Linked DNA regions of Homo sapiens: region 2 is linked to region 1. The links are contacts of gene promoters, found by promoter capture Hi-C in human tissues and cell types (Jung and others, 2019). All regions are on one chromosome and are shown on one strand. The core of a region is centred on a gene start or on the middle of the fragment in contact, and the rest is flanking DNA. Distances in the headings are between cores, read along the strand shown. Region 1 holds the start of MANF (mesencephalic astrocyte derived neurotrophic factor). Region 2 overlaps HYAL2 (hyaluronidase 2).

Region 1 (7,448 bases), core at 3,064-5,563:
CAAGGGGCAGGGTATCAAGCGCAGCACCCCCCGCCCCCGCCACCTCCTTTCTGCTGAGTGCCTGCTGCCCTCTAGTGGTACACACCCACACACATCAGCTGGCCCCAGCCCCTATGTCCTGCTCTGGTATTTTCAGCACTGGTGGGTTGAGAGATAAATGGGAATGAATAACCCCCCAAACTCTGCAACTGGAAAGCAGAAACTGGTAGGAGCCTCCTGGGGCAAAACCCCATTTTGGTATTCACTATAATTCTGCAAGGACAGCTAGAAATTTTTTTTCTTTAATAAAAAAATCCCAGACACACTTTGAAGTCCTAGAGTACACCAGCAACAGAAGGAAGGGAATCCCCTCATGGGGGTACTGTAGGGCCAGCATCATCAGGAAAGCTCCAGGCTTCACATCTGATACAGTATTGTCAGGAGCCCACTTAAAAAATAAATTACAAAAAGGCTGTTTTGGGAGTAAGCAGTTGAACTGTTTTTTCCCCCTCAGGTGCAACAGAGATTGAGCAGACTACAAATCGGTCCGTGCACTGGCTGCCTTGGGGGCATATTTAGGCATCAGTTCATTTATCTTCCGGATGTAGTCAGACTTTTCTGCACAGCCTTTGCATGTCTCCCCCCAGTCATCCAGAATCTTCTTCAGCTCTTTAACTCGGAGCTTCTTCAGGTCCACTGTGCTCAGGTCGATCTGCTTGTCTGGAGGAGAGAGCAGGGAGAGTCACTGACTGGGTGGAGCACCTGCAGTCCCCCAGTAGTCCCAGAGTATGTCACTCCCTGAACGGCCAAACCAGCCCTACTGGTTTCAGAGGAAGAGACATTTCCAGACACATTTACAGGCATGTCAGTGCCTACTGCCCCCACAAGAGGGAACTAGCCTCTTCACCAGGAAGGCTGGCTACATATTATGTCTACTACAGATATGCAGCGTGAACAAGGATAGGGACAGAGGCCACACTGTCCTTATAGGAGAAACATGGTTCCCATCTTCCAAGTGCCTCTGACATAGTCACCACATACTAACAACTCCAGGCTGGTGCCAAAGAGCAGCCCTGCTCAGGCCTTTGAGTTAGGAACTTACTCTCCATGACCACAGTGACCTGGAGCCAACTGGACCTGTACCAGGAAGACGCAAGTAGGTGAACACAGGTCCTTGGCCATTCAAGTTTTTCAGAAGAGGCCCTGACTGTTTCTGAAGACTGGGACTATGTACACCAGAGACCCAGTCAGCAAGAGAGATGCTGTAGTTCCTAACTCTTGGGCTTGCATGCTTGGACATAGTGTTTCTTTTCAGAATAGTAAAAATCACTGGGGCTTCAGAGCTTGCAGCCAGAACCAGCCTGTTAAACCCAAGTCGTACTATGTCCCTTCTCTGCTGAAAAACTCCTAATGCTCCTAACTTCACGCAGATTAAAAGCCCTCACCAGCCTGCAATGCTCTCTGACTTGCCATGCCACTGGACACCTTTATCCTGCCTGTATCCTCTTCCATTAGCTGGCCTCTTGGCTAATCCTCACCTCCTTCAAAGTTTGCTGAAATATCACTTCTTCAATAAGGCCTATTCTGACCTCCACCCACTTCCATGCCAGAGCCCTCCAGCATTTAGCACCATCTGTCATACAATACAACCCACTCATGACTCTAGCTCATCATTTTCCTCTCCCAGATGGGAAACAAACCCAGAAGGTGCACAGCATTCATTAAGAAAGGACTAGGCATACTCACCATACTTAAGCTCACATATCTGGCTGTCCTTCTTCTTAAGCTTCTCACAGATCTTCTCCACAGGGATGTGGTGGGCCAGAGGCTTTGATACCTCATTGATGATTTTGGTGGCTGCATCATCTGTGGCCCCGATATAGTAGCACTGGAGCAATAAAGGACAATGGCCTTCAGGAGGTGCTTGAGAGCCATCTCCTCCAAACATACTGACACCTTGAAACATCATCTCTCTGTAGGGCCTTACTTGTGTTTTGAGATAGGGCTCCCTGTCACCCAGGCTGGAATGCAGTGGCATGATCACGGCTCCCTGCAGCTTCAATCTGTTGGGTGGTGATCCTCCCCTCTCAGCCACCCTAGTAGCTGGGTCTACCGGTGTGGGCCACCACACCCAGCTAACTAAAACAATTTTTTTTTTTTTTTGAGATAAAGTTTTGCTCTGTCACCCAGGCTGGAGTGCAGTGGCGCAATCTTGGCTCGGCTCACTGCAACCTCCGCCTCCCAGGTTCAAGCAATTCTCCCTGCCTCAGCCTCCTGAGCAGCTGGGATTACAGGCGCCTGTCACCATGCCTGGCTAATTTTTGTATTTTTTAGTAGAGATAGAGTTTTGCCATGTTGGCCAGGCTGGTCTTGAACTCCTGACCTCAGGTGATCCACCCACCTCGGTCTCCCAAAGTGCTGAGATTACAGGTGTGAGCCACCACGCCTAGCCTAAAAATTTTTTTGTGCAGACAGGATTTCACCACTTTGCCCAGGCTGATCTCAAACTCCTAAGTTCAAGCAATCCTCCCACCTTGGCCTCCCAAAGTGCTAGGAAGACAGGCATGAGCCACCGCACCTGGCCCACAGCGGCATTTTTCGGTGCCCTGCCTGTACTGGTAGTCAGATTCAGCCAGTGTAAACCCTGGACTCTTAACACATGCTCAGTCCAAGCTGACAGCCACCAAATGAATTTAAGTGTCACCAGGGTTCAAACCTTTAACAGAGAGAAAAGCCAGAGACTGTCAGAGAAATTCAAGTTAGAAAACCCATTGCTTCACTAGGGCTTTTGTCTTGGATTCGGCCCTTGCCTATCCTGTAGGCACCCTGTCACCTTCTCCTGTCCACATACATGCCACACTCTTTCAGGCCTCTGGGCACTCACACTGCTGTTCCCTGTATGGGATGGTCTTACCCCACTTCAATGATAACCCTTCCTCAGAGACTTCTTGGCCACTCTAAATCAGCACCTGCTGGTCCATTTTCTTCATGACACCCAGACATTGCATTATTTGTGTGTCCGACTGTCACTTCTTTCCCCTGATATTCCCAGTGCCTAGCACATAGTAGGTGCTTAATAAAGACTAACAGGATAAAAAAAAATCACAGTTGCAGAACACATGCTGCTTTGGGAAGGACATAGAAGCACTTCAGTCTTCTCACATTAGTTTATGGAGAGAGTAGCTGGCTTCCTGAACAGAGAGGTGGGCAAGGCCTTTTATCAAACGGCTGGTGAAGCCGAGGGTTAACATGAGCCAGGGCCAGTTGGGGAGGATCACCAGCTACTTACCAACCGATTCTCTTTGCCTCTTGCTTCCCGGCAGAACTTTATAAGTTCGTTTTCAATAGTGGCTGGTGAGAATGTGACATCTCTGTCTTTGAGGTCCTGGTAAAATCTTCCCAGATAAGAAATACAAACTGGAAAAGAGAGGGACGGGAGATGCTCAGCAATCACCAAGCTGTTCCAATCCACCAGAAAAGAACTCCGCCAGCAATTTTAATAGGAGACACGGAGATGAATCATTAGAGGTGAGCTTTTCCATCACCGATTTTTCTCAGGTGTCTACAGGTAGACAGAACCCGGTTCCAAGTGGCGGGGGTCCCCTGGTACACCCAGGGCATCAAAGGACCAAGCATCACCCAATGACCTATAAACGACTTCTCCCTGCTCCTTTCATCAAGTTTAAGCCCATGGTGAACACGTGTCCTTGAGACGGGACTCACTGTGACCTCATAAATGGAGAGACTGGAAGGTGAAGAGAAAAATGATCAAAATGCTGCTGCTAATTTCCAAATACAACAGCGGACCCAGAGGTGCAGCTTCGTGATCCCAACAGACAGGGCGCAGCACCCACGGCCAGCCCTGGAGCTCCCGACGCCGAACGGGGAGCGGTAACCTCTAGATGGTGGTGGGGACAATAACTCAGGAGTGATGGAGATTTCAGGACAAGTTTTCAACGGGATCTAGTCTCAACTTTTCTTCGTCGGACCAATGTTTTCTAGGCCCAAGAAAGATTTACTAGGGCGGGCGCCGGAGCCTCCTCATGCAGGCCCCGCGGGGACCTGCTGTCGCCCCCGCCCCCGCCCCCGCCCTCGCCCTCTTGGCCCCGGCCGTCTGGTGATGTTGTGGGGTTCAGCGCCGCCGCCAGAACGGTCACGGAGCGCGGCCCCCGGCCCCCTATCCCGCACCTTCGCAGTCGCCCGGCCGCAGCGCCCGGCTGCCCGGCAGCACGCTCAGAGCCAGCGCCACCGCCAGCCCCTGCGTGGCCCACATCCTCCTCATCCTCCTCATCCTCCTCCTCCTCCTCCTCCTCCGCTGCCGCCGCCGACCGACTGAACCGCACCCGCCGCGCCGCACCGCCTCCAAGTCCCGGCCGCGCGCCGTAGCTCCCCATTGGCGGGGGGCCCCCCGGCGCCCTCCCACATGCCACTTCCCCATTGGTCCAGGAGCCGCGAGCCCAGACGGGCGGCTCCACGCTGCCCTCCCTCATTGGCTGGTGGTGTCTGAGCCCTAGACAGTTGTCGGCCGCTGATTGAACCCGGGCTGGCCGCAGGAAGCGACTACAGCAGCGACGGAAGCGGTGTGGGCCGCCATCTTGGGTAAGGGCAGCGACTGTGGCTGAGGCTGGGTACTGCTAGCTGAATGGGGTTCGGCCACGCCTTACATCTGTTGAGTTGACCCGCGTACCCCTGCCCTGGGCCCCAGGCTCCCTCGAAAACCCCTGCTGATCTCCTCGCCCGGACTCCGACTCGTGGTGCAGGAGTTCTGGGGTCAGCCAAGACAACAGGTTAGGCAGGAAGGGCGGGCGGCCGCAGGCAAGGCTCAAAGAGGTTTCTTTTTTCTTCTTTCATTCGCGTGGGCAACGGATCCAACCTTTGAAAGCCCACCTGCTGATCCTCCACCTGACCGGAGCCCGCCGTGCATAGGCTGATAGGAGACGTGCGGGGTGGACGGACTGCGGGACATCTGAAGGAAGGGCTCAAGGCGCGCCAAGCTCAAAGCTGGGCCGCCACTCTAGACCGTGGAGGGAAGCGCCCGGGCCAGATCATCGGTCGAGGACATGGGGTCGCCTCAGAGTGGGAAGGTGAGGGGCTCGGGAGGTGCCCTTACAAGCTCTGAATCGTGGCTTGGTGGCTGGCCAGCCTCCTCCTGCCTCCCCGGCTAGGCCCTCGGGGTCCCCCGCTGCCGTGGGACCTCCTGAGTGGGGTCCCGGGAATCACCAGAGAAGCACTGGAGGATGTTTCCTTTTCGACTGCCCTCCTTTCAAGTGCCCTCCTGGCTGCCTGCCTTCAAGGCAGGATGCGGGAACCGTTGGCTCTACTCAGTGCAAAAAGGACATGTCTATAGGGCTAAAAAGGGCTTGGAGCCCGGCGACAAGGGTTGGAGAGGGGCACATCCTCTGCTCCCATTCAGTGAATTCAGTGGATCAGTATCACGTATTTATCTTTAATTCACATCACAGCAGTCAAGGAAGTGGGGAAAGGGGGAAAAAAAATCAAGTGGCAGATATTTACATCTAAAATTCACATTACTTGTTGGATTTTGAACATGCTACCACAATATATACAGTAAAATACCTCTTGGGACAATGGTACAAATTTTGTTTCCTTTAACTTTGCTTTTCTGGTACAGGTAAGATCATTTTTAAATCACTTTTTTTCTTTAAACATGAATACACAAAAGAAATGGTTAGAAGTTTCCTTGTTTTAAATAAGCACAGAATGCGGGAGGTTAAAAACACATTTATAGTGCTGAATACCAATTGGACATCACACTCTATACATTTTTTGCTCAAATTCCTGTACAAATACACAGCATTCAAATAGGTATTTACAAATAAGCTTGAAAGAATGAAAATCAGTATTTTACAATCTTTTCAAAGGGTTCTCATCTCTGGCCTCCCATTTCCCCTCAGACTGACTTATTCTCCAACAAAAGGGATTTCAGAATGTGTCCTTTTCATTTAGTTAGGGAAAATGGAGAGGGAAAACAAACGGTTTCACCTTGCATAATGCGAAGCCAAATGAACCCATACTCCCCTCCCTACCTCTTGTGCCACCAAGTGGAGAAGGTAGCTGTTCTTATGTGATGACTGCCTTGTCCAGGGATTGACTTTCAGAAGTGCCTTAAAATCTAAGCCCTCCTACCTATGAATCAAATCCAAAACTAGCCCCTAACCCCTAACCCTCTAACACCTGTGAACACCAGATGGTCCAGAGATTGAAGCTTGCAAATGAATGTAGGCTGAGAAGCAGGCCAGCCCTTTGAGGTGAGGGCTGCTGTAACTGACCCATATCCTCAGCAGCCTTCCGCCCCACTCTGCCTGGAGTGAACCTGGTGGTATCAGAAGGGACCCACACTGGTGATAAACCCCCAGAAAAACCCTGGAGGTAATTTAGACCTCCATCTTTCCCAGTAGGTTATTAGCATTTCTGTTAAACAAGCTGGGGTTTGTTTACAAGAGAAAAACACACTGACCATGGCCTTTACTGTCTGGAAAGAGGGGCAGTGGAGAAGGGACAAGGGGCTTGGGCCCAGGGCCTGGCTGTGGAGGTCATACAGGCCAGCAGAAGAGGAACTGGGGGCAATACGCCTGCCCAACAAGGCAGCCTTGTGACCATCATTAATGTGAACTCGAGCAAATAAAAGAAAAAAAATATTTTGTAGGCTTTTTTTAAAGTAACTTAAAAGCACCCTGGTAAAGTACTACTATACCCACCTGACCCTATCCCCCCAAATAATAAACTGAGAGGAAAATCAGTGCCCTGACTTGAATGAGTTTCCTCTAAAGACACCACTGCTCTGCTTTATAGTTTCCTATAAAGACACCAACAGACTGGGGAGACTGGAGAAACTACCCTCCTGCCAGCCCCGAACCCTGAGTGGTGGTCCCCATGGCCTGGAGTGGGTTGCTGTATGTGGCCACTTGGGAGATGACAATTCTACCTGCATGGCTATCTGCTTCCAAAAGGAGAAGCCCCCTCCCACCCTCTTTACCCAGGAGCCTGCTGAACCTGACCACATGTCCTCAGGGCCTGGAAGCCTGGCTGGGCAGCCAACCCCATGGCTCAGAGGTAGTGCTGAAAATCCCTGATTCAGGAGCTGATGGTAGGCATTCTGGATGCTTCTGAAAGCTTTGAGGATTTCCGGCGCCTGCCACACCCCACACTCTTACACCAGTCTCTCTACCACATAGGAAGGGGACCAGCTCCCCCTAGGAGGAAGGTAGCTAGGATAGCCTCTCTGGCTCCATACCTCCACTCAAACCCCAGAGGGCGGGAGATAACCCTTGCAGATCCAGTCACCACTGGGGCTCCTGTGGGGCATGAGGTGTTTCAAGAATGGAAGGGAGCAAATGGTCAGAAATGATGTGATGGAGAGAAAAATCCAAGGTGGAGTAGGAGACGGCTGGCCCATTGAACCCTGGCAGTGCCCTGGGCATGCAGTTAGGCCAGTCACATGCCTGAGC
Region 2 (7,448 bases), core at 1-2,500, 1.1 Mb after region 1:
CCCCTCAAATCATTCTGTCTATAACCTGAAAGGGTGACATCATTATCCCCATTTTTCAGATGAGAACAATTGAGGCACAGCGATGCTGAGAAGTTTGCCCAAAGCTTCCCAGCAAATCCAGAGCAGAGCTGGGACTGGGGCCCAGGCCTTCTAACTTTGGAATCCATCCTGATAGCTGCACCTAGGCTCAAGTGTGCCCTTGGCTTGGGAAACTGAGCCCCAAAAGTGGGGTGGAAATGGACTTAAATGTTTAAAAAGGAAGCAAAACAAATGAGCCTCTGCCTGGACGTGAAATGGGGGTTGAGCTGGGAGTTCAGCAGGTTGAATCAGGCTGGGGTCTGCCCTCCTTGTCTGTTCCTGTCACCCTGTGGTCTCAGTCTTCCCCAGTGACCATCCCTTTTCCTGCATAGATGGACCTCATCTCTACCATTGGCGAGAGTGCGGCCCTGGGCGCAGCTGGTGTCATCCTCTGGGGTGACGCGGGGTACACCACAAGCACGGTAAGCGAGACCCAGCCTGCCAGAGCTCAGTCTATGGGACAGACAGAGAGTTAGGGCCTTTGGCTACCAACCTCAGGTGGGCAATCCTAGTCTGGTCCCCTTGTCTGTCTCCCACCCGAGGCATCCCTGGTGGCAACAGGAGGAGGTCACCCCGGCCCTGCTCTCAGGAAAGAGGAAATGCTGTCCTGAACAGCTGTTGAGTTCCGCCCTTCCCCATCTGCCCAACTGGGTTCCGGTCTGTACCCCCACCCACTTCTCAGCAGGAGCAGGGACTGTGTGGCTCAGGTGCAGATTGAATGTATGAATGTGTGCAGTTAAAATAAGGTATAGTCATCACAGTGTGGACACAGTTTCCATCTGGGCCTGTGGGCTGAGGCAGCTGACCCTGACCTGTGGTCCTTGTCTTCTGCCTCCAGGAGACCTGCCAGTACCTCAAAGATTACCTGACACGGCTGCTGGTCCCCTACGTGGTCAATGTGTCCTGGGCCACCCAATATTGCAGCCGGGCCCAGTGCCATGGCCATGGGCGCTGTGTGCGCCGCAACCCCAGTGCCAGTACCTTCCTGCATCTCAGCACCAACAGTTTCCGCCTAGTGCCTGGCCATGCACCTGGTGAACCCCAGCTGCGACCTGTGGGGGAGCTCAGTTGGGCCGACATTGACCACCTGCAGACACACTTCCGCTGCCAGTGCTACTTGGGCTGGAGTGGTGAGCAATGCCAGTGGGACCATAGGCAGGCAGCTGGAGGTGCCAGCGAGGCCTGGGCTGGGTCCCACCTCACCAGTCTGCTGGCTCTGGCAGCCCTGGCCTTTACCTGGACCTTGTAGGGGTCTCCTGCCTAGCTGCCTAGCAAGCTGGCCTCTACCACAAGGGCTCTCTTAGGCATGTAGGACCCTGCAGGGGGTGGACAAACTGGAGTCTGGAGTGGGCAGAGCCCCCAGGAAGCCCAGGAGGGCATCCATACCAGCTCGCACCCCCCTGTTCTAAGGGGGAGGGGAAGTCCCTGGGAGGCCCCTTCTCTCCCTGCCAGAGGGGAAGGAGGGTACAGCTGGGCTGGGGAGGACCTGACCCTACTCCCTTGCCCTAGATAGTTTATTATTATTATTATTTTGGGGTCTCTTTTGTAAATTAAACATAAAACAATTGCTTCTCTGCTTGGATTTTGTACCTGGGCTAAAGTGTATGCGAGATTCCAGAATTTCCCATGGGGTTTGAGCTCAGCTCTGTCTCTATGAAACCCTCTGCTGGGGACTTCTCGTGTAAGATGTATTCACCAAGACTTGGGGGCCCAGAGCTGCCCACTCTGGAGCTGTTCTGCTGGGGCAGGAGCCACCCCAGTGGGAGTGGAGGGACCCACATTCCATCCCAACACCAAGGACGTTGCTTTCTCCGTATTGGTTGCAAGGGAGTCAGGCCCCGCCTTGTGTGAGGGACAGGGCTCATTGTGTTTCTGCCACTTGCCCCTGTCCTCCCAGCTGGACCAGTGCCAGCCTCCTTGCCAACCCAAGGGAGAAACGTTTGATCTTCCCTGCTGTTCCCACAGGCAAGGGTGTCTCCTCCAGTCCCTGCTCCCAAGGGCAGTGGACACCAGCCACATACACCTCTCATCAGGGTCACAGCCCTCCCTCGGATCTGGTGGTGGGAGGTGGGCAGGGGATTGGGATCTGAATCGTGAGGTTCAGTCCCTGTCCCATTCTAGAGATGCCTGATGGGGCTGGGAGGTGGCATCTTGGGCCTGGGAGCAGGAACATCTTCTAAGGTCTGCTCCGTCCTGGCTGTGGGAGAGTATGGCTAGTCTCTGGCTGTCCCTGAGGAAAGAAGGAGCAGCTGGAGTTGTCAGACCAGCTCTGAGCTGCTTCACTAGCCCTGCCTCTGACGGGAGTGCATTCTGCCTCTCCCCTCAGCCAGCAACCCCACACCTGGGGTCCCGCCCATGTCCGTGATGACTCACCACGCAGCCCTGCTTCAGGAGGCTCTGGCTCTGGGGAGACAGACTCAAGAAGCCGTTGAGTGGTGAGGGCAGCCAGCAGCAGGGGAGCAGGGGTGGTGCCCTTGGAGATGCTTCCCACATTGGGTTCTAAAAGGTGAGGGCGGCAGCTCGATGCTCAGGAACAAATCCTGGGCAGAGGCTGGAGGAAGTTGGAGGTGGTGAAGGTGAACAGTTCAGGGCTGGGGTGTGGCTTAGTGGCTGCTGTGGGCAGAGGCAGGAGGGGCAGCCCTAGAGCAGCACCAGGCCTGACTTCACCTAATACTGACTTACTCATTCAGTAAACGCTGAGCACACAGTGTGCCTGTGCTGGGCTAGGTGCTGGGGATGCATCGATGATGCATCTATGAACCACACCAACAAAGACCCCCGTCCTTGTGGGAGTGACAAAATAGAGGTAGATGCACACTAGATGCAAAGACCGAGATGCCAGATGGGAGAAACAAGCCCGGCCAAGCCAGTGCCAACCCAGGCTGTAAAGATATCCTTCCCTCACCTCTTTCGCCGGTGATGGGTAGAGAATGGAGAGGAGAGAGTGAGGTGGTAACACTGGAAAGGTGACGTGGTAAATTCACACAGTGAAGGAGGAGGTGCACATACAAGTGGAGGGGTCCCAGGTGCTCATGGCCATGGTGGGGGGAGGCCAGGCTGGAGAGAAGATTCAGGTGTTGGTCAATAAAATGATGGGCCGGGTGCGGTGGCTCACCCCTGTAATCCCAGCACTTTGGGAGGCCAAGGCAGGTGGATCACTTGAGGCCAGGAGTTTGAGACCAGCCTGGCCAACATGCTGAAACCCTGTCTCTACTAAAAATACAAAAATTAGCTGGGCATCCGGGCCTGGTGGTTCACGCCTCTAATCCCAGCACTTTGGGAGGCCGAGGCGGACAGATCACAAGGTCAGGAATTAGAGACCAGCCTGACCAACGTGGTGAACCCCATCTCTACTGAAAATAAAAAATTAGCCGGGTATGGTGGTGCCTGCTTGTAATCCCAGCTACTCAGAAGGCTGAGGCAGGAGAATCGCTTGAACCCGGGAGGTGGAGGTTGCAGTGAGCCAAGATCACACCACTGCGCTCCAGCCTGGGCGACAGAGTGAGACTCTGTCTCAAAAAAAAAAAAAAAAATTAGCTGGGTTTGTTGGTGCACACCTGTAGTCCTAGCTGCTTGGGCAGCTGAAACACAAGAATCACTTGACCCCAGGAGGTTGCAGTGAGCGGAGAATGGGCCACTGAACTCCAGCCTGGGTGACAGAGCAAGACTCTGTCTCAAAAAAAAAGTTGCCACAATAAGATGATGGCACTTAGCAAAAGGACAGCAGGAAAGGAGAAAGGAGCTGTGGCCTGTCCCCCATACCTGTGACTTCCTGCACCTGTGACCTCCCCCACACAGATGTGACCCATGCATACCTCTGAGCTACCCCACCCACACCCAACACACAGAGGTGATCCAGACCACACCACTGTGACCTTTCCCACCTAGCTATGACCCCTACATACCTGTAACCCCTCCCATGTGTGACCCCATACAGCTGTTACCGTCTCCAAATAACTGACTCCTCCGCAACTGTGACCTCTCCTGCATAGCTGTGACCAGTACCCATCGAGCTGTGACCCCCTCCATATAAACCTTTATGAACCTCACATTTCTTCCCCCGGAGGACCTAAAAGATGGTCCTAGGGAAAGTGCAACTCAGGGAGAGCCAGCACTGTCCTGTGGGGAAAGCGGGGAGTGGGTAGGAATAAGGTAATGGGGAGTGATGCGGCTCAGAGATCTGAAGTGTTGAACAACCGGAGACAGCAGGCGGGACTGGACCATCAAGCTGATGGACCCCAGACATATGCGCACACACACACCATTTGAGCCAATCCTACTGGACCAGCCCAGTAGGAGCAGGCCTGTGGGCAGGGCCCTGGGGTGGAGGAGGATTTCAGGCACCCTCAGATTCTTCCTATGGTTCCACCATTAGAGCTTCTCCCTTGGACTGAGGCCAGCTGGAGAATGCTGGCCTGGTGGTTACCTGGATTGGGCCAACTGCAGCACTAGGTTTCTGGGGGCACCAGGAGGTGGCATGAATCCTTGAGGAGGGGGGCCAGGGGTTGCCTTGATGTTCTGTTCCCTCAGCCCTCAAGAGTTGTGCCAGGCTCTCTGGGCCTACATGGTCATCACTCTGGGACCCTGCTTCCTGAACTGGATCAGCAGTCACCACTTCTGGGGCTTGATCTTGTGTACAAGTCTCATGCTGTCCCCAGCATCCTGGGCCCTTCTTTCCCTCAGCCCTGCCAGCTTTTCTATCCCAGGCAGCCTGTAGGACCCAACCCAGATGGTAGTTAACTGTGAGTTTCGTTGCTTCAGTGGCCACCGTGCCAGGGGTGGCCTGGCTACAGTGGCTCAGTCTCAGACTTGACTCAGATCCAGGTAGCACTTTCACTTGGGCAGGGACATGGTGTTTCCTTCAACCTACTCTGGCAGGCAAGGCTGGGCCCAAGCACCTAGCAGGTGTCAATAACCAGCTTCTGAATCAGCTGTGAACCCAGAAAATCTGACAAAGGTCTCAGTTAACTTAGAAAGTTTATTTTGCCGAGGTTGAGGACTTGCTGGTGACACAGCCTCAGGAAGTCCTGAGGACATGTGCCCAGGGCGGTTGGGGCACAGCTTGGTTTTATAGATTTTAGGGAGACATGAGACATTAATCAATATGTAAGAAGTACATTAGTTCCAGAAAGAAAGGTGGAGACTGCTCAAATCAAGGCTCCCAGGCTCAAAGCACTGGGGGCTTCCAGGTCACAGATAGGTGAGAGACAGATGGTTGCATTCTTTTGAGTTTCTGGTAAGTCTTTCCAAAGGAGGCAATCAGAATATGCATCTATCTCTGTGAGCAAAAGGATGACTTGAATAGAATGGGAGGCAGATTTGTCCTGAGCAGTTCCCAGCTTGAAGAGGCCCAAGATACTTTCCTTTCACATTTACCCCATTTTCTTTTTCAAAATCTTTTGGAGAAAGCATTTTGCAAGAAAATGAGTATCTGGTCTCAGGTTTCATCTGATCTCTCATTGCTAGATAAGTAGGTCCGGAAAGCTCATTTTTAGCAGGTTGTAAAGTCTCATGCAGTGTGAAGAGAAAATAGGGAGAAGGAAGGAAGAGAAAAAAAAAACAGCAAAAGAACAATCCCAGCCCTGGCGGGGTGGCTCATGCCTGTAATCCCAACAATTTGGGAGGCTGAGGCGGGTGGATCACCTGCGGTTGGGAGTTCGAGAACAGCCTGACCAACATGGAGAAACTCTGTCTCTACTGAAAATACAAAAAACTAGCCAGGCATGGTGGCTCATGCCTGTAATCCCAGCTACTCAGGAGGCTGAGACAGGAGAATCACTTGAACCCAGGAGGCGGAGGTTGCAGCAACCTGACATTGCGCCATTGCACTCCAGCCTGGGCAACAAGAGTGAAACTCCATCTCAAAAAAAAAAAAAAAAAAAATCCTGGGAAAATATAGGCCACATTACTCTGAAGTCCATACATTGGTAGGCAGGTATGAAAGTGGCTTATGTATGTACATAAACAGGTTACTGTTACTTTCTTCTGAAGTGTAAGTTGTCTGACTTTAGTTGACACGCTTTTAAGAAACCACAGCTAGGGCCGGGCGCAGTGACTAACGCCTGTAATCCCAGCACTTCGAGAGGCCGAGGCGGCCGGATCACAAGGTCAGGAGTTCGAGACCAGCCTGGTCAATATGGTGAAACCCTGTCTCTACTAAAAATACAAAAATTAGCCAGGCATGGTAGCAAGCGCCTGTAGTCCCAGCTACTCGGGAGGCTGAGGCAGGAGAATTGCTTGAACCTGGGAGGCATAAGTTGCAGTGAGCTGAGATCGCGCCACTGCACTCCAGCCTGGGTGACAGAGCGAGACTCCATCTCAAAAAAAAAAAAAAAAGAAACCACAGTGGCCGATTGCAGTGGCTCCCCCTCCCCCTCCCCCTCCCCTCCCCCTCCCCCTCCCCCTCTCCCTCCACGGTCTCCCTCTGATGCCGAGCGGAAGCTGGACTGTACTGCTGCCATCTCGGCTCACTGCAACCTCCCTGCCTGATTCTCCTGCCTCAGCCTGCCGAGTGCCTGCGATTGCAGGCACGCGCCGCCACGCCTGACTGGTTTTCGTATTTTTTGGGTGGAGACGGGGTTTCGCTGTGTTGGCCGGGCTGGTCTCCAGCTCCTAACCGTGAGTGATCTGCCAGCCTCGGCCTCCCGAGGTGCTGGGATTGCAGACGGAGTCTCTCAATGGTGCCCAGGCTGGAGTGCAGTGGCGTGATCTCGGCTCGCTACAACATCCACCTCCCAGCAGCCTGCCTTGGCCTCCCAAAGTGCCGAGATTGCAGCCTCTGCCCGGCCGCCACCCCGTCTGGGAAGTGAGGAGCGTCTCTGCCTGGCCGCCCATCGTCTGGGATGTGAGGAGCCCCTCTGCCTGGCTGCCCAGTCTGGAAAGTGAGGAGCGTCTCTGCCCAGCCGCCATCCCATCTAGGAAGTGAGCAGCGCCTCTTCCCGGCCGCCATCCCATCTAGGAAGTGCGGAGCCTCTCTGCCCGGCCACCCATCGTCTGAGATGTGGGGAGCGCCTCTGCCCTGTCGCCCCGTCCGGGATGTGAGGAGCGTCTCTCCCTGGCCGCCCCGTCTGAGAAGTGAGGAGCCCCTCCGCCCAGCAGCCGCCCTGTCTGAGAAGTGAGGAGCCCCTCCGCCCGGCAGCCACCCTGTCTGGGAAGTGAGGAGGGTCTCCGCCCGGCAGCCACCCCGTCCAGGAGGGAGATGGGGGGGTCAACCCCCCGCCTGGCCAGCCGCCCCGTCCTGGAGGGAGGTGGGGGGGTCAGCCCCCCGCCCGGCCAGCCGCCCCGTCCGGGAGGGAGGTGGGGGGGTCAGCCCCCCGCCCGGCCAGCCGCCCCGTCCGGGAGGGAGGTGGGGGGGACAGCCTCCCACCCGG

Evidence for each region. The method cuts DNA at HindIII sites, captures the fragments that hold promoters and counts their contacts. A contact is called where the count stands out against the background at its distance.
Region 2: a fragment that was not itself captured here is called in contact with the fragment with the promoter of MANF in region 1 in 1 of the 25 tissues and cell types used here (dorsolateral prefrontal cortex).

The regions. Positions count from the first base shown.
Region 1 is chr3:51,382,156-51,389,603 of GRCh38, reverse strand. It overlaps MANF (mesencephalic astrocyte derived neurotrophic factor), which reads right to left and starts at 4,313. Exons shown (of 4, transcript NM_006010.6): 1 at 4,168-4,313; 2 at 3,269-3,396; 3 at 1,726-1,867; 4 at 207-699. The coding sequence starts at 4,261. The coding sequence ends at 515. It overlaps DOCK3 (dedicator of cytokinesis 3), which reads right to left. Exons shown (of 53, transcript NM_004947.5): 53 at 5,406-7,448. RefSeq lists a silencer at 4,118-4,487 and an enhancer at 4,548-4,897. The HindIII fragment of the contact is 5,502 bases long and covers 512-6,013 here.
Region 2 is chr3:50,312,008-50,319,455 of GRCh38, reverse strand. It overlaps HYAL2 (hyaluronidase 2), which reads left to right. Exons shown (of 4, transcript NM_003773.5): 3 at 411-500; 4 at 917-1,648. The coding sequence ends at 1,327. It also overlaps a transcript of HYAL1 not described here. Among named protein-coding and RNA genes, the nearest start is that of HYAL2, 7.0 kb to the left of the region's middle. The HindIII fragment of the contact is 9,182 bases long and covers 1-5,841 here.